Regions from separate parts of the Homo sapiens genome. Here all the other regions are linked to region 2. Evidence: promoter capture Hi-C in human tissues and cell types (Jung and others, 2019). All regions are on one chromosome and are shown on one strand. The core of a region is centred on a gene start or on the middle of the fragment in contact, and the rest is flanking DNA. Distances in the headings are between cores, read along the strand shown.

What was found. Contacts are between HindIII fragments. The study calls those that stand out against the background at their distance.
Region 1: a fragment that was not itself captured here is called in contact with the fragment with the promoter of ADNP2 in region 2 in 4 of the 25 tissues and cell types used here (IMR-90 fibroblasts, aorta, lymphoblastoid cells and 1 more).
Region 3: a contact is called between a fragment that was not itself captured here and the fragment with the promoter of ADNP2 in region 2, in 7 of the 25 tissues and cell types used here (H1 embryonic stem cells, IMR-90 fibroblasts, hippocampus and 4 more).
Region 4: a fragment that was not itself captured here is called in contact with the fragment with the promoter of ADNP2 in region 2 in 10 of the 25 tissues and cell types used here (IMR-90 fibroblasts, adrenal gland, aorta and 7 more).
Region 5: the fragment with the promoter of HSBP1L1 here is called in contact with the fragment with the promoter of ADNP2 in region 2 in 5 of the 25 tissues and cell types used here (IMR-90 fibroblasts, adrenal gland, lymphoblastoid cells and 2 more).
Region 6: a contact is called between a fragment that was not itself captured here and the fragment with the promoter of ADNP2 in region 2, in 2 of the 25 tissues and cell types used here (IMR-90 fibroblasts and lymphoblastoid cells).

The regions. Positions count from the first base shown.
Region 1 is chr18:79,880,597-79,883,447 of GRCh38, forward strand. All of the region lies in intron 3 of KCNG2 (potassium voltage-gated channel modifier subfamily G member 2), which reads left to right. Among named protein-coding and RNA genes, the nearest start is that of SLC66A2, 70 kb to the right of the region's middle. The HindIII fragment of the contact is 7,076 bases long and covers 1-2,851 here.
Region 2 is chr18:80,107,829-80,110,575 of GRCh38, forward strand. ADNP2 (ADNP homeobox 2) reads left to right here and starts at 1,434. Exons shown (of 4, transcript NM_014913.4): 1 at 1,434-1,644. RefSeq lists enhancers at 1-358, 1,185-1,686 and silencers at 1,496-1,655, 1,856-1,955. The HindIII fragment of the contact is 8,526 bases long and covers 1-2,747 here.
Region 3 is chr18:79,859,097-79,861,879 of GRCh38, forward strand. All of the region lies in intron 2 of KCNG2 (potassium voltage-gated channel modifier subfamily G member 2), which reads left to right. Among named protein-coding and RNA genes, the nearest start is that of KCNG2, 63 kb to the left of the region's middle. The HindIII fragment of the contact is 4,051 bases long and covers 1-2,783 here.
Region 4 is chr18:80,249,741-80,252,440 of GRCh38, forward strand. No RefSeq gene overlaps it. Among named protein-coding and RNA genes, the nearest start is that of PARD6G, 3.6 kb to the left of the region's middle. The HindIII fragment of the contact is 3,076 bases long and covers 1-2,700 here.
Region 5 is chr18:79,962,988-79,965,892 of GRCh38, forward strand. It overlaps HSBP1L1 (heat shock factor binding protein 1 like 1), which reads left to right and starts at 1,656. Exons shown (of 4, transcript NM_001136180.2): 1 at 1,656-1,799. The coding sequence starts at 1,749. RefSeq lists an enhancer at 138-217 and a silencer at 1,313-1,882. The HindIII fragment of the contact is 12,330 bases long and covers 1-2,905 here.
Region 6 is chr18:79,898,075-79,900,870 of GRCh38, forward strand. KCNG2 (potassium voltage-gated channel modifier subfamily G member 2) reads left to right here. Exons shown (of 4, transcript NM_012283.2): 4 at 966-2,026. The coding sequence ends at 1,742. Among named protein-coding and RNA genes, the nearest start is that of SLC66A2, 52 kb to the right of the region's middle. RefSeq lists silencers at 1,215-1,509, 2,475-2,769. The HindIII fragment of the contact is 4,873 bases long and covers 1-2,796 here.

The DNA of each region.
Region 1 (2,851 bases), core at 308-2,807, 230 kb before region 2:
ATTCCAAGAGGCCAATACTCCTCTGATACCAAACCAGAGACATGACAAGAAAAGTAAAAACAAAGACCAGTGTCTCCCATGAACTCATGCGAAACTCCTCAACAAAACATCAGTAAATCGGGGTTGGTAAAGACATAAAAAGCACAGCACATCACGGCCAACTGAGGTTTTTCTCAGGAAAGCAAGCTTGGTTCGATACTCAAAACCAACCCATGTAATTCACAATATTAATGCACCAAAGAAAAAATGCCAGCTGTTCATCTCAACAGATGTAGAAAAAGCGTTTGACTAAATTCAGTATCCATTCATGATTTTTAAAACAGCACTTTCAGCAATTTAGGAATAGAAGGGAATTTCCTTTTCCTGATAGAGAACATCTACCAAAAAAACCCTACAGCTAACAACATACATAGCAAAAGACTGAATGTTTTCCCGTTAAGATTGGGACCAACCCAAGGATGCCTGCTCCCCACTCCTCTTCAGCACCTGTTGGCAGTCCTAGAGAGAGCAGTGAAGCAAGGAAAGTAGACGTCGTACTATTGGAAAGCAAGAGAATAGAACTGCATATGTAGAAACACGCTGTCCAATTGGAAAGCAAGAGAATAGAACTGCCTATGTAGAAACACACCATATGATTGGAAAGCAAGAGAATAGGACTGCCTATGTAGAAACACGCCGTACGATTGGAAAGCAAGAGAATAGGACTGCCTATGTAGAAACACGCCGTACGATTGGAAAGCAAGAGAACAGGACTGCCTATGTAGAAACACGCCGTATGATTGGAAAGCAAGAGAACAGAACTGCCTATGTAGAAATTCCCAGGAAACCCACAACAAAGCTTAAGAAAATTAAGGGAGTTGCTAGCAGTGAACTATTGGAATTCAAATTTTTTAAAGTTCATTAATAGCACCAAAAACCATGAATTGCTTACATGCAAGTCTCACAGCCTAGGTCCAGGATCCATCTACGTGCTGATAATTACAGCTAAATACAGCTGATAATTACTGATAAAGACTGAAATCAACGAAGGCCTGCAGTGCTCACGCGCTGAAGACTCGGTGTGACTAAGATGTCCACCCTCCCCATAGTCCATCTCCAGATTCAGTGAAATCCCATTCAGAATCCCATTTTCTGCAATATTTACAAGCTGATTGTAACATCTTTATGGAAAGGCCTAGGAACCGTTTTGAAAAAGCAGCAGTTGGAACTGACACTGCCTGCTTTCACGATTTGTTCTGAAGCCACAGCAGGACAGTGTGGGGAAAGGACAGGCGTGGGGTCGTGGACACAGTCCAGGAATAGAACCACATGAATGGGGCCAGCCGGCGTTTGGCAAAGTGAAAAGGCCGGGCACGGAGAAAGAATCGTCTTTTCAACAAATGGGGCTACAACAACTGAACTCCCATATTTTAAAAAAACACAACCCATGCCTTACGTTTTATACAAAAATTCAACTCAAGGTGGACCGTGGCCCTAAACATATAACATTTAAAACTATAAACTTGTAGAAGAAAACATAGAGGTGGCCTTGCCAATGGAGAGTAAGGAAGGAGTTCCCAGACGTGGCGTCAGATACGCGATTCATGAAATATGAAAATGGATAGGCTTCACTTCATTAGAATCTAAAACTCCTGGCCTAGTTGGGGTCTCAGGCCTGTAACCCTAACACTGAGAGGCCGAGGTGGGAAGATCACTTCAGCCCAGGAGTTCACGACCAGCCTGGGCAATATAGCAAGACCCTCATCTCTATTAAAAAAATTCTTTTGACTTTTGTCCACAAAAGACTGTTAAGAGAATGAAAAAACAAGCCTCAGACTGGGAGAAAATATTTGTAAATCACATATCTAACAAAGGACTTGTAATTAAGCTATATAAAGAACTGTATAAACTCAACTGTAAGAAAATAACCTGATTTTAAAAGGGACAAAGTTTTGAACAGACACTTCACCAAAGAAGACACGCCTATGGCAAATACAGCGCTGAACTGTTATTAGGGAAATACAGAGTTAAGCCACAGGAGCTGTCACTCACATGTTAGAAGGGCCCTGATCTAAAAACCAGCCGAGAGCAGCAAGCTCAAAGGAGGGTGCGCGGCCGGCAAGGCTCAGGACCTGCAGGCCATGGAGTGGCGAGGCTGCCATGGAGTGGCGAGGCTGCCGTGGAGCGCGGAGGCCGGGTACACCTGCGCGTGGAGCGCGGAGGCCGGGTACACCTGCGCGTGGAGCGCGGAGGCCGGGTACACCTGCGCGTGGAGCGCGGAGGCCGGGTACACCTGCGCGTGGAGCGCGGAGGCCGGGTACATCTGCGCGTGGCACGCGGAGGCCGGGTACACCTGCGCTCATCGCACACCAGCGCCCACGCCCAGGACGTACTCGCGGGAAGGACAGCGTGTGTCACGTACAGAGCGAGTGTTCAGCCGGCTTTATTCAGCACGGCCTAGCCCGGAAGCAGCCGACACGGACCGCGACGGCCGGTGCCAGATCAATCCCGGTGCATCCACGGTGCGCGGTGAAAAGCAGCAAAGGGTGGGTGCCCGGGACAGCACGAATGGGCTCGCAGGGCCTGACGCGGGAGAGGCCAGGCCAGGAAGCCACGCTGCGATCCCGTCTATGGGATACCTGGGAAAGCCAGGGGTTGGGGGCCAAGACTGGGTGGGCGGGGTCCGGCTGTGAGGCAGGGAACGGCGGGGGGAAGCTGGGGGAGCTGTCCTGCGTCTTTGCGCTGCGTTTTCGCGGTAGTGGTGGTTCCAGGACCGTGATTTGTCCAGACCCATAAAGCTGAGCTCTGATGAGCGAGCAGGTCCTTTTGCATAAATCTTTGGGCTCATTTCTGACGTTCCCTGACAACTCCC
Region 2 (2,747 bases), core at 184-2,683:
GGGACATCACACCCATTTACCACTGTAACTCAAAGTAAAATCTTAACTTGTCAGCAAACATAAAGGGCAAACTCTACTTCAATTATGACTTGTATTCATGTAGGAAAAAAGCAAATTTTGGTCAGGTCATATCGGCCCACCATTTAACACAGTTTTAAAACGAATATGGACATTAATTTAGTGCCTATTATGTGTTTAGTCACTGGGCTAAACTGAGCAGAAGGCTCCCATTGAGAGGGAAAAGCTGAAATTATGGACGAGCGGATGGTGACAAGGAGGCTCTGGAGAGGGCGGTGGGCGGAAGGCCCAGCCTGGGCACGGCCTCTGCCCCGCGGTGGCTGGAGTGGGCCTCAGGGCTGGAGGCTGGCGGCGGGTTGCAGGGGCTCGGCGCTCTGGAAGGAGACGTGGCCTTGTGCTGAAAGGGGCACGTGTCCTGCAGACGGCTTCGCCAAGAAGGAACTGCCTGGAACAGCCACTGAGGGCGCGGCTGAGTTAGGGTCAGGGGAAGGAACACTGGAGGGGAGTTAGGGTCAGAGTCAGGGTTAGTGCTAGGTGAGGTTCAGGTGCAGGGTCAGAATTAGGGTTAAGGTTAGGGGCACTGGGGGAGGCGCCTGCGCTGCCCTCGTGGTTACTCCCACGTGCTCTGGGGCACGAGGGCGTCCGCCAGAGGCCTGGGGACTCCACGGAACGAAGACCTAGAGCCATTTTGAAAGCCCTACGCCATGTTTCCACTAATTTTGTGGAATAAATTATTATTGCTACACAATTGATAAACACCTGTGCAAAAATGAACTTTTAGGTTAAGAGTTTATACAAATGTATGCAATTAACCCTCTCCCCACACAACTTGTAGTAGATCTAAAAATCAGAATTCTCAAGAGAAGGTGTGATCACTTTCCCACAGGAATGATGAAGTCAGGAGACCCCAGCTAGTCGGTTCACCAGGATATGCCAATCATGGCACACTTGTCCCAGTTCTGGGAGCCAAAGTTTTGTCTTCCAATGGCAAGGCAGCATTATCACAGTTGGGCTCCCATTGGCTCTGAGATGTGGGCGGGGTCACCACTCCTGGAGCTGCCACTAGCTCCACCCCATTCCATGCAAATGAAGTCAAAGCTGTGGTGAGTCCACGTGATTAGTCACATGGTTGATGACACACTCTCCCCACCCCTTTAGTGACGTCATTGCCCACTCAAACTCTCACGAGAGTTTGCACAGATGTGGAAAGGAGCTGGCAGGGCAGTTCCCTGGGACAGAAGGGAGTCAGGGGGTCCAACAGGGGCCCCCCACTGCCACCCCAGAGCCTCCAGTCCATCTTTAGCCAGGGGCCCCGGGGGGCCTGTGGGAAGTGCCAGGGGCCCCCAAGCACACTCTGCTCTCATTGGCTGGCTGCGCCTACATGCAAATGAGGGCCAACGTCACTTCCTGAGGCCAATCGAGCGCCATTTTCTCTTTCTGGCTGCGCGGGAGGAGGGGACCAGTCGCGCTGGGGGTGGGCGCGCGCTGAGGCGGGGGTCCCGCCGCGCGGGGCGGAGGCGCGGGCGGGCGCAGGCGGCCCCACGGGACGCGGCTGCGCTCGGCGGAAGACGCGGCAGCCCTGCGAGAGGCAGCAGCGGAGACGCGGTGCTCCTCGGGCGCCAAGCGGTAGGTACGGCCCGGCCCGGCGCGGGCCCGCGCGGCGACGCCCCCTGCCCCGGTCCTGGCCCCCGCCCCAGTCTGGTCCCCTCCGAGCCCCGCCCCCGCCGGTACCCAGCCCACACCCACGCCCGCCGCCTGCCCTCGCGCCGCCCGTGGCCGCCTCGGGAATCCCGGGACGTTCTCAGGGCGCGGGTTCGCGGCCCGAACGGCGCCCGTCGACCCCCGACGCGCCCGCGGCCCGCCCCGCCCGCCGCCGGTCACGTGGGAGCGGGGGCCGCCCCGGGAGGGCGGAGAAGGGGATGGGGACCTGAGGGGAGAGTAGGAATAGGGGAAAGACGAGGACGGGGACCGAGGGAGAGAGGGGGGCTGGTGAAGGGAGCGAGGAGTAGAGGGAGAGGGAACGGGGATGGAGAAGAAGAGAGGGGGCAAGGAGCTGTGGCGACCCCTGTAAGGACTCCAGAAACGCCCCGCCCGCTGGCCCGCCCGCCGCATCCCCGAGACCGGGTTCTCCTGGAAGCTTCTCTCTGGAGGAGCCTTGAGTGACGGCAGATGTAGGTCAGGAGCTGACGGTGACACCTAAATCTGCCCAGGTTTTTTTTTCCCTAGAAAGGTTTGAAGAACAGCTGATAACGGGGCCCTGTTTCTTCATCGTTGAGCTTTTGATGCGAATATCAATAATTGATATACAGATGTTGACTTTAACATTACTTTTCATCTGCCGTTGCTGGTTGCATTGAAATAGATTCCGTTTACAAAATTTCTACTACAGTTGACTTTGGAATGTTAATTTTAACTGCCCTTTTAAATACTGTACAGATGCAGAATGAGAAATAATTAGATATTTTAAGTAGTTTATTTGAACAGAAGACTTGCCTGCGTGCTTAAAACTTACTCTATTTGCACGGGTAATCACTGCCTCTTGGGATCTTGAGGAATATACTGGCTGTGGAGGAGTGGGGTGGGGGAGGAGAAACTGGTAAGCAGGTAACTGACAATGCAGATTGGCAAGTGGGGCAGCAGTTTGTAGAGTACTGTGGGCATCTGCCACGCAGAGCCTTTATCAAAAGAGGGGGTTTGGAGTCTGGGTACCATTTTTGGGGGTGAGGAGC
Region 3 (2,783 bases), core at 146-2,645, 250 kb before region 2:
TTGTTGCTTGTGCTTTTGGCATTCTGTTTCAGAAACCAATGTCTCATCCATGGTCATGAAGATGTACAGTCTGTTTTCTTCTACGTGTGTTTTGGAGTTTTAGCTCTTACATTAAGGTCTTTGATCTAGTTTGAATTAGTTTTTATATATAGTGTGATGTAGGCATCTTGGTCCATTCAGTGTTGCTATAAAGGAATACCTGGAGCCAGGTAATTCATTTTAAAAAGAAGCTTGTGATGTCATCATGATTCTGATGTCTGGAAAAGTTCAAGATCAGGCATCTGCATCTGAGGAAGGCCACAGGCAGCTCCAGTCATGGCAGAAGATGGCGTGGAGCTGGTGTGTGCAGAGACCACACGGAGATGGAGGAAGCAAGGGCTAGGGGTGCCAGGCGGGTTCAACAGCCAACTCTGGAGTGAACTCATAGAGCGAGAACTCACTCATTACCATGAAGACACCTCCCAGCCATGCATGAGGGATCAGCCCCCATGACCCAAACCCCTCCCATTAGGCCCCACCTCCGACACTGGGTATCAAATTCCAATATAAGATTTGGAGGCCAATATCCAAACGATAGCAGGGTCCAACTTTATTTTTTTACATGTGGATAACCGTTTGTTGGAGACACTATTACTTCTCCATTGAATAGTCTTGACGACCTTGTCAAAAGTGAACTGACGGTAGATTTATGGGTTCATTTCTGGACTTTCAATTCTGCTCCATTGATTTTTATGTCTCTCTTTACACTAGTACTACACTCTTGATTGCTGTAGCTTTATACTCACTTTGAGTAAGTAGTAATGTACTAGTCCATGTTCGCATTCCTATAAAGGAATACCTGAGACTGGGTAATTTATAAAGAAAAGAGGTTTAATTCGCTCATGGTTCTTCAGGCTGTAAAGGAGGCACGGTGCCAATGTCTGCTAAGCTTCTGGGGAGGCTTTGGGAAGCTTCCAGTTATGGCAGAAAGCAAAGGGGGAGCAGGCACGTTACATGGTGAAAGCAAGAACAAGGTTGCGGGGTAGGTACCACACACTTTTAAACGAACAGATCTCATTTCGACACAAGATTTAGGTGGAGGCATGTAATAAAATGATATCAAGTAAGTTTGAGCCCTCCAACTTTGTCCTTTGTCAAGTTTGTTTTGGCTACCTTGCATTTCCAATAGAATTTTCAACTTGTCAATAGAATGTTCAACTTGTCAATGTCTTCAAAAAAGTTACTGGGATTTTCATATGGATTGGATTGACTCTGTTGATCAATTTAGGGAAGATTGCCATCTTAACAATATTAAGTCTTCCAATACATGAGCATGGAATGTCTTTTCATTTATTTAGTCTTAAAATTTCTTCCACCAATGTTTGTAGTTTTCAGTTTTCAGTGTAGGTTTCAGTTTCCACTCCTTGGTTAAATTTATTTCTAAGTATTTTATTCTTTCTGATGCTCTTATAAATGGAATTTTTTTAACTTCCTTTTCCGATTATTCATTGCTTTTGTATAGAAATACAACTGATTTTTTTTACCGATCTCATGTCTTGCAACTTTGCTGAACCCATTCTCATAGTGATGTGTGTGTGTGTGTGTGCGCATGTGTATGTGTATGTGTGCGTGTGTGTTCTTTAAGGTTTTCTGTACATAAGATCATAAGATCAAGTCATCTCAAAATATAGTTTTACTTTTTTCTTTTGAGTGTGGATGCCTTTTATTTCTTTCTCTTGCCTAATTTTTCTGACTATAATTTCCAGTTCAATGTTAAGTAGAACTGATGAGAGCAGGTATTTCAGTCTTGTTCCTGGTCTTAGGGGAAAGAATCCAGTCTTTCACCGTTGACTATGGAGTTAGCGGTGAGTTTTTCCTACGTGGACCTTGTCATGTGGAGGAAGTTCTCTTTTAGACCTAGTTATTGATTGAGTTTTTTGTTTAATCAGGAAAGGATGTTAGACTTCGTCAAATCCTTTTTCTGCCTCTATTGAAATTATCGCATGATTTTTCCCTTCATCCTATAAATGAGCGTATTATAGTAATTTTGTGTATTGTGCCACCCGTGTATTCCTGTGATAAATCTCTATGGTAAACGATCAAATGGTCATCATGTATAATCCTTTTAATATGAAGCTGGATTTATTTTGCTCATGTCTTGTGGAGGATTTTTGCCTCTGTTTTCTTCTCTCTCTCTCTTTTTTTTTTTTTTTTTTTTTTGAGATGGAGTTCTCACTCTGTTACCCAGGCTGGACTGCAGTGGCGCGATCTCGGCTCACTGAAACCTCCGTTCCCAGGTTCAGGCAATTCTCCCTGCCTCAGCCTCCCGAGTAGCTGGGATTACGGGCACCTGCCACCACACCCCGCTAATTTTTGTATTTTTAGTAGAGACAGGTTTTTGCCATGTTGGCCAGGATGGTCTCAAACTCCTGACCTCAGAGGATCCACCTGCCTCGGCCTCCCAAAGTGCTGGGATTACAGGCATGAGCCACTGTGCCGGGTCTTTGTCTTTAGACAGTTTGTGGTGTGTCAGTGTGGATGTCTTTGAATTTATCTTACTTGGAGTTTGTTGAGTTTCTTAGATGTGTAGATTAATGTTTTTCATCGAATTTGGAGGGTTTTTAAACCATATTTCTTCAAATATTCTTTCTTCCCTGTTCCCTCTTTCCTTTCAGGACTCTCACTATGCAAAAGCTGGTACATGTGATGGTCCCACAGGTCTCTTAGGCTCTGTTCCGTTTTCTTCACTTGTTTTCTTTCTGCTCCTCAGATAGGATAGCATGAAATGATGTATCTCCAGTTTC
Region 4 (2,700 bases), core at 162-2,661, 140 kb after region 2:
CAGTAAGCTCGGGGCTTTGGAGTGGGAAGACGCCTTTTAAAGGAAAGGCTGGAAGGCTACGGAATTTCAAGTAGCCCTAGACTTGGCTCTGGACCAGGTTGATGAGAGTGAGATCACTTTGTCAATGCCTGTGGCTCAGAGTGTGGTGTAAGGCCCAAAATCTGCTCCACCTGGCACTTGTTAGCAATACCCCACCCAGACCCACTGAATCAGAATCCGCACTTGAACAAGATCCCCAGGTGATTCATGTCCACACTGAAGTTTGAGAGGTGCTGCTCCTTTATCTTAATCATCTGTTGCTCCACAGTTCTTGATTGGCATGATCTGCAGGCAAAAGCAGGAGGAAAGGCTGGGAAAGCTTGCTGTTGCGTGTGGAGCTTGAGTTTCCAGCTGAGACTTGAACTGGATTTGCTAGGGCTTTGAGCTCTAGGTTCAGGCGGGTATAGACCAAAAAAAAATTAACTGAGCCTTCAGCTGGAAAGGCTTTTACACAGTACAGCAGCCAGATTGGAAAAAACAAAAGCCCTCTCCTACCAGACACAGTGGCTCACACCTGTAATCCCAACACACTGGGAGGCTGAGGCTGGAGGATTGCTTGAGGCCAGGAGTTTGAGACTAGCCTAGGCAACATGGTGAAACCCTGTCTCTCCAAAAAAAAAAAAAAATTAGCTGGGCATGGTGGGACACACCTATAGTCCCAGCTACTCAGGCGGCCAAGGTGGGAGAATTGCTTGAGCCCAGGAGGTCGAGGCTGCAGTGGGCTATGATTGTGCCACTGCACTCCAGCCTGGGTGACAGAGAGAGACCTCATCTAAGCAAAAAGAAGGGAGTGGGGGAGGAAAAGGAAAAGAAGAAAGAAAGAGAAAAGAAAGGAGAGAGAGAAAAGACTCCTCAGATCCTGGCCTGATAGCCTGCCTTTTCACACAACTGGGGGTCATGGGAGCCTCTGAGAGGCTGACTTGTTTCAGACAGAAAATGAGAGAGAAAATAGGAATGGGTAGGGGTTAAATCTTCCTCAAATCACGGCTTCTAAGAACCCATCTAATAACTGAACCATCAGGAGCAAAAAGGAAGTATGTTGTGGACCCAGTAAAATGTATTCCTTGACTGGGTGCAGTAGCTCAAGCCTGTAATCCTAGCACTTTGGAAGGCCCCTCTGCAGTGGCTCATGCCTGTAATCCTAGCACTTTGGAAGGCCCCTCTGCAGTGGCTCATGCCTGTAATCCTAGCACTTTGGAAGGCCAAGAGGGGCAGATTGTTTGAGACTGGGGAGGCTGAGGTGGGAGGATTTCTTGAGACTGGAAGGTCGAGTGTGTGGTGAGCTGTGATCATGCCACTGCACTCCAGGGCATAGCAGAGTGAGACCCTGTTGAAAAAAAGATGAGAGCAGGTTCTTTTATGATGAGAGCAGGCTCTTTTATGATGAGAGCAGGCTCTTTTATGATTGAACATTTGTTGCTGATGTATATGTTCTAAGAAAACATTCTCTAAGATAATTTCGTTGGGTAATAGGAAAGCATCGCTGTAATATTTGAACCAGCAGGCTGTTGCATTTGCAATGCATTCTAATATATTTTCGGATGAGGCAGGCAAAGAACTGATATTCGATTGAAATAAGGAAATGGCAGAGTAGTTATGCCTCATTATCACCTGATTCTCATATAAAGGCATCCCTTCTTTTTACCCTTTACTCTTCCCCTGCTCAAAGAGGCCTCTTCTGCCTTTTTTAAAAATTTTCATTTTTGAGATGGAGTTTCATTCTTGTTGCCCAGGCTGGGGTGCAATGGCGCGATCTTGGCCCACTGAAACCTCCGCCTTCCGAGTTCAAGCGATTCTCCTGCCTCAGCCTCCCAAATAGCTAGGACTATAGTCATGTGCCACGACGCCCGGCTAATTTTGCATTTTTAGTAGAGACAGGGTTTCACCATGTTGTCCATGCTGATCTCGAATTCCTGACCTCAGGTGATCCACTCGCCTCGGCCTCCCAAAGTGCTGGGATTATAGGTGTGAGCCACTGTGTCTAGCCTCTTCTGCCTTTTTGATGCAGTAATATCTTGACTCTCAATGGAAGCTTCATGCCTAAATTGACTTACCAGTAGCTCTTTCAGCAGATGGCACCGTTGGCCAGAATAGAATGAATTCCCTGCATTCCAGAGCCATCTGCCCACATCCTACAAAGTGGCCCTGGTTGCATCCCCTAGATTGGTGCAAAGGGCTCTCTCCTCAACCAGCTTGCGGTGTGACCTGCATGTCCACCCCCAGGTGGAAGACAAAAGGCAGGTGGTAAACCTTACGCAGCTGTCTCTGACTTTGCATTAAAACTCTGGGACACTTTTACAAAATACAAATAAAAGCACCTAGAACATGAAGCACAGTCTTTGTTCCAAGTATTACACTAAGCATGGATTAGAGTCTCAGGATCTGTTTTAAAAAGAGTCAGTCCGTAAAGCTTTTCACTGACTTGGTGAATGTATCAGAATGTGATTTTATGGCAGAAAAGCGTGGTCAGTTTTCAGCCACACAGCATCCATTCATCAGCATGATTCATCTCCTCGTGCACACTCCCAAAGCATTTCAGAGGTTCAAAGCAGTTGCAGGCCCTACTGATTTCCTATTAGATGAAACTGCATGCTTTTCCTCTTGTCTATTTCAGCATGGTTTCTTGGTGGTCCAGTTTACGGCCATCTCCAAGATAATGTC
Region 5 (2,905 bases), core at 406-2,905, 140 kb before region 2:
CACTCAGGGTCTTCACGCCTGGCCTCTGCCACCCAGCGTTGTTCCGGAGGCCCGCCTGCTTCGTAGCGTGCGTCAGCGCCTCACTCCTTTGTGTGGCTGAGGAATATTCTATCATCTGCATTTTGTCACCTACTTATTGGGGGTGGACATTTGGGTGGTTTCCACCTTTTGAGCATTACTGATGCTGCAGTAGACTTGGTGCACTCGCGCTGTCGTTTCGGTATATGCCTAGGGGTGGCGCGGCTGGGCCCTGTGGAAACTGCTTCACTTCTGAGGACCCACCCGACTTTTTCACAGCACTGCAGCCTTTCACAGCCCACCGGCTGCGTGGGGGGGGCCACAATCCCCACACGCCTCTCGGACTTACGTTTGTCTCTCTGATTCTAGCCATGCTGGTGGGTTGCAGTGGGAGCTCATTGTGGTTTTGGTTTGTGTTTTCCTGATGACTGGTTGTAATGAGAAAAACCGAGAATCACATTTAAAACCTTACCCTAAAGTGGGAGTTGCTGAGAGACCAAAGAATGACTGGGCGGAGTCCAGCTTGGTGAGTAGGTGAGTTTATTAGGACTCACATGTGGGGCACTCGTGGGCAGCAGGACAACTCTAGAGATGAGCGTGCTTCTGTCCCTAAGCTGCTTTTGAGCTAATTTTCTGCCTCTTTGCGCCGTCTGTGTGATGGGCCTGCTCCCTGTGGTGGTTCTCACATCCCCTCCGGGCTGTTTGGGTTCTCAGGGACACCTGCTCCTCGCTGGGCACCGTGGCCTGGACTCACCGCCTGGCCTTTAGGGTTCAGGCCACAGACATCCGCCCTGAAGTAACCTGGCGGGAACCGCCACGCCACAGCGGTGGTGCTGGGTGGCTGTGTTTTATTTATCCGCACATGGAGACACCAGAGCTTCCAGGTGTGGTCACTGGGCTGTGCCCTAGGGATGCTGGGGTGACCAGACATAGCCCTGTTCCCACAGCGCTGCACAGGGGCACAGACATGGCAACAAGACTGGTAACCCTAAAACACCGTCCTGGGAGGTCACCCACAAGGTGACGAGCCACAACCCAGGTGTGAAAGAGGCCAGGGAAGGCCCGGCGTGGTGGCCCAGGCCTGCGGTCCCAGCACTTTGGGAGGCCGAGGCAGGAGGATCACTTGTGCCCAGGAATTCGAGACCAGCCTGGGCAACATAGTAAGATCCCGTCTCTACAAAAAATAAAAAAGATCAGCCGGACCTGGTGGCGCGCGCCCGTGGTCCCAGCTACTGGCCAGGCCGAGGCAGGAGGATCGCTTGGGCCCGGGAAGTCGAGGCTGCGGGGAGCCATAGTCGCCACTGCACCCCAGCCTGGGCCACAGAGCGAGCCCCCGTCTCTGAGAAACGCAGCAGGGGTGACCGAGGCCCATGCACTGCCCGTGCGGAGCGTTTTGGGGGTGTAGGTGGCCGGTGGCGCCCACGGGCCCTCTTGAGTAAGGCGGCTCCGCCCAGGCCGTCCCGGGGCCTCGGCTCGGCTCGGCTCGGGAAGCCGCAGAGCCTGGGGGCGCGGACCAGTCCTCCGAGGCGGCCGCTCGGTGACATTGCGTCCCTGCAGGTGCAGCGCCCGCCTCTCCGCTCCGGCCCCGCCTCCGCCCTGGAACGCAGCGCGCTCCGCCCGAGGCCTCCCGGCGGCCCATACGGGAATCGCGGAGCTTAGCTGTCGCCACCTCGCGCCGGGTCCGCGCGGCCCACGGGACCCCCCACTGACGCCCCCGGCCAGCGGTCCACATGGACGTGCGGGGCCCTGAAGCCCCCGGCGGGCGCGCGCTGCGGGACGCGGTGAGCCCCTCCCCGACTCCTGCTTCTCTCTGGATGGGGGCGCCCCTGCGGTTCTGGGGGGTTTTGAGGTCCTGGGGGGGGAGCCTGCGGTGCTGGGGGTGCCCTGCGGTCTTCGTGGGGCCCTGAGGTCCTGGGGGGCCTGCGATCCTGAGGACTCCTGTGGTCCTGAGGAGTCCTGAGTGCCTGGGAGGCCTGTGGTCCTGGGGGGGCCCCTGAAGACCTGGGGGACCCTGCGGTCCTGGGGGGGCCTGAGGTGCAGGGGGGAGCCCTGCTGTCCTGGGGGACCCTGCGATCCTCGGGGGGCCTGAGGTCCTGGGGGGAGCCCTGCAGTACTGGGGGGCATTGAGGTCGGGGTCAGTGGGGAAACAACTGGGCCAAAGGGTGCCCGAAAGGGGACCCACGAGTGTCGCAGCGCCCAGGGCTCCGGCCTCTTCCGGGAAATCCTCCCGCTCCCCAGGCCTTCCTACTTGCCAAAGAGTTCCAGGCCCACAAGAGGACTGGCTATGAGGAAGAGACCTGGAATCTGAAGGAATGTGTTGGGCGTTGTGCAAACCCTAACGTAAATTTCCTGACAAAGGTAGAAAGCCCTGGCATGGTTCAGAGGTGGGGCCTCCTCCTATGTCGACGGGATTCTAGATTCACACCATGGTACGTGGGGCTCCCTGGGATCTTGAACCCCCAGCTGGGAGAATTTTGTGCTTCTCAGCCTCACTGTTCTCATCTCACCCTGGACACGGTCGCAGGGTGAGGAGTAGATTACACCGTGAATGGTGTGGGACGTCAGTCTGTAAACTACAAAGCAGTATATAAACAGGAAACGCTTTCAGTAGCAATGGTGGTATTTCTGTGTGACCTGGTAAGTAATTTCATAAGAATTCTTGAGGAGCGCAGGGTCACGAGATTTTCTCCTGCATCCTCCTCTGCATGCTTTATGGCCTTGGCTCTGGGCCAAGGTGTGTGATCTCCTGCATTCATGGTGTGTGGTGTGAGGAGGGGGATGGGTCCCTGCCCCGTCTGCACGTGGCCCTCATGATTCCCGCGCTGCTTGTTGAAAAGACTTTCCTTTCCCTCTGAATCCAAAGGCCTTAGCACCTTTGTCAGAAGTC
Region 6 (2,796 bases), core at 75-2,574, 210 kb before region 2:
ACGTGGTCAGCACACGCATGAATCCTAATTCCCTTCACCACCACCTCCAATAGCGTTGAGAGTGCCCTTCGGTGTAAACTTCTTCATGTTCCATTGCAAAGGAAGTCAGTTCCTTTGAGAAGAGATTACTTCCTTCATCTCCCTCCAGGCAGGAATCTCTGAGCCAGGGATTTGGGGGATGGGGACAGCTGCGAGCCTCAGTGTGAATGACACCCTCCCTCTCTAGGAGCTGAGAGCTTGATAGCACCCTGAGACCCCATTGGCCTCTCCTGGCCTGGAATCACTGCAGCAAGGGCAGTCAGGCCCTGCCTTCTCAGTGTGCCACACCCAAGGCCAGCCTCCCACCCACGAGAGTGGGGACTGGGCAGGAGGAGGGAGCCCCACCCCTCCACCGGACTCCCCAAGGACGTAGCCCCAGGAGCTGAGGGCGGAATGTGAGATGCTGATGTCAGCCCTTTCTAGGGAAGAAGCCCTCCTGACTGGGAGCTGTGGGTGGGGTGGAGGTGGGGGTGGGGGTCTGTGTTCGTGGCTGCAGCCATTCCACGTGGCGTCTCCCCCTGGCCAAGCTGAGAAGGAGGATGCAGTCTTGACACAGATACCACAAATGCTCACCTTTCTTCCAGAATTTTCACATATAAATAGATGTTTCTTCGTTTGCTGTTTGCTCTTAAGACCATTTCCCAAGGCTTTAAAAGGTCAGGGGTTTTAACATTATTTTCACCAGTTTCCTGGGTCAGCTAAGCGCATCCGCTCTCAAGCCCGAAGTGATCACCATGAAATCTTGCTGGTTTTCTGGGTTTTTCCAACAGGAACTGGGCCTGTCAATATCCCCTGCACCCGCTTCCGTGGGTTGGGGCGGGAAGGGTGGCCTGGGGGACGCCTCTGGTCCTGGGAAAGGAAGGGCAAGGCGCCCCCGGCCCTCCAAGAGGCCTGCGCCCCCAACCCCGTGTCCCCTCTCCCCGCAGGGCGAGTGCTCCCCCAAGTGCCGCAGCCTGTTCGTGCTGGAGACCGTGTGCGTGGCCTGGTTCTCCTTCGAGTTCCTGCTGCGCTCCCTGCAGGCCGAGAGCAAGTGCGCCTTCCTGCGCGCGCCACTCAACATCATTGACATCCTGGCGCTCCTGCCGTTCTACGTGTCGCTGCTGCTGGGGCTGGCGGCAGGCCCGGGCGGGACCAAGCTCCTGGAGCGCGCGGGGCTGGTGCTGCGGCTGCTGCGTGCGCTGCGCGTGCTCTACGTGATGCGCCTGGCGCGCCACTCGCTGGGGCTGCGTTCGCTGGGCCTGACCATGCGCCGCTGCGCGCGCGAGTTCGGGCTGCTGCTGCTGTTCCTCTGCGTGGCCATGGCGCTCTTCGCGCCACTGGTGCACCTGGCCGAGCGCGAGCTGGGCGCGCGCCGCGACTTCTCCAGCGTGCCCGCCAGCTATTGGTGGGCCGTCATCTCCATGACCACCGTGGGCTACGGCGACATGGTCCCGCGCAGCCTGCCCGGGCAGGTGGTGGCGCTCAGCAGCATCCTCAGCGGCATCCTGCTCATGGCCTTCCCGGTCACCTCCATCTTCCACACCTTTTCGCGCTCCTACTCCGAGCTCAAGGAGCAGCAGCAGCGCGCGGCCAGCCCCGAGCCGGCCCTGCAGGAGGACAGCACGCACTCGGCCACAGCCACCGAGGACAGCTCGCAGGGCCCCGACAGCGCGGGCCTGGCCGACGACTCCGCGGATGCGCTGTGGGTGCGGGCAGGGCGCTGACGCCTGCGCCGCCCACACGGAGACCCCCTGCCCCCTCCAGCTGCAGCGTCGGGACCCCCGAGGTGCGCCAAGGGGTGGGGGGCGTCTGGCCTGGGGGAGCGGCTCCTGCCGGCCGCGTCCTCGGCCCTCGTGCGTGAGCAGCCCCAGAACTTGGCGGGGCCCTGCCTGACTCCCCGTGGCAGCGCTGGGCAAAGTCACTGGCCTTTGTCCTCCTGCCCCACCCCTTTCCTTGGATTTTTAATTTTCTACGCCTAGCTAAAAATAAATTTAGTAAGTCCGAGAGATTCCACGCCTGCTGTGGATGACTTCATCCCCCTGCCTCCAGCCAGGGAGGAGGGAGCACGGCCCCTGCCAAGCCCCCATGGCATCCGGAATGGGCAGGTCCCTGCAGAAGGAGGCCCTCCGCATCCACCTCTGCCCAAGGCCACATCACCTTCCCAGGGATGGGACAGAGGTTTGAGCCAATGCTCACAGCACCCCCAGTGCCACCGCAGTAACCGCCCTTTCGGGGGTCGGGGAAGAGGGTTCCAGCCCTGACCTCTAACCTCCATCCCCTGACACCACCTCCCTAGGGAATCTTTAAGGCTTGACCTCCGGGAGGGTGACAAGGGCCTCCTGACACTCCCTCTGCACAAGGTTGCGTGTGGCATTGCAACCCCTCCATGGCCTTGTTCTTCTGGGATCCTCCTGTCCCAGAACATGGCCTTGTTCTTCTGGAAGGAACTTTCGACATCGCGCTGCTCTATGCTTCATTTTAATGAGTTCATCCAGGAAACCTGAGACATGGTGGCCGCAGCCCGAAGCAGGAGGGGGACACCTCACCAGAGGGTCCCACTGTCCATTACACGGCAGCAGGAGTCTGTAGGGGACGCAGGTGTGGAGAAAGGGCAGGAGACGTGCATGGCCCCGGTGAGTGGCTGAGTGCAAGCCCCAGCCCCTTCTCCATGGCAGGCAACAGCCCACCGGGACCACCTGGGGCTCAGACCTGCCTCCCCCGACAGGCAGGTCAGCTGGTGCCCCAGGTGCCCACGACATGGCTGGGTCCGAGGACGCC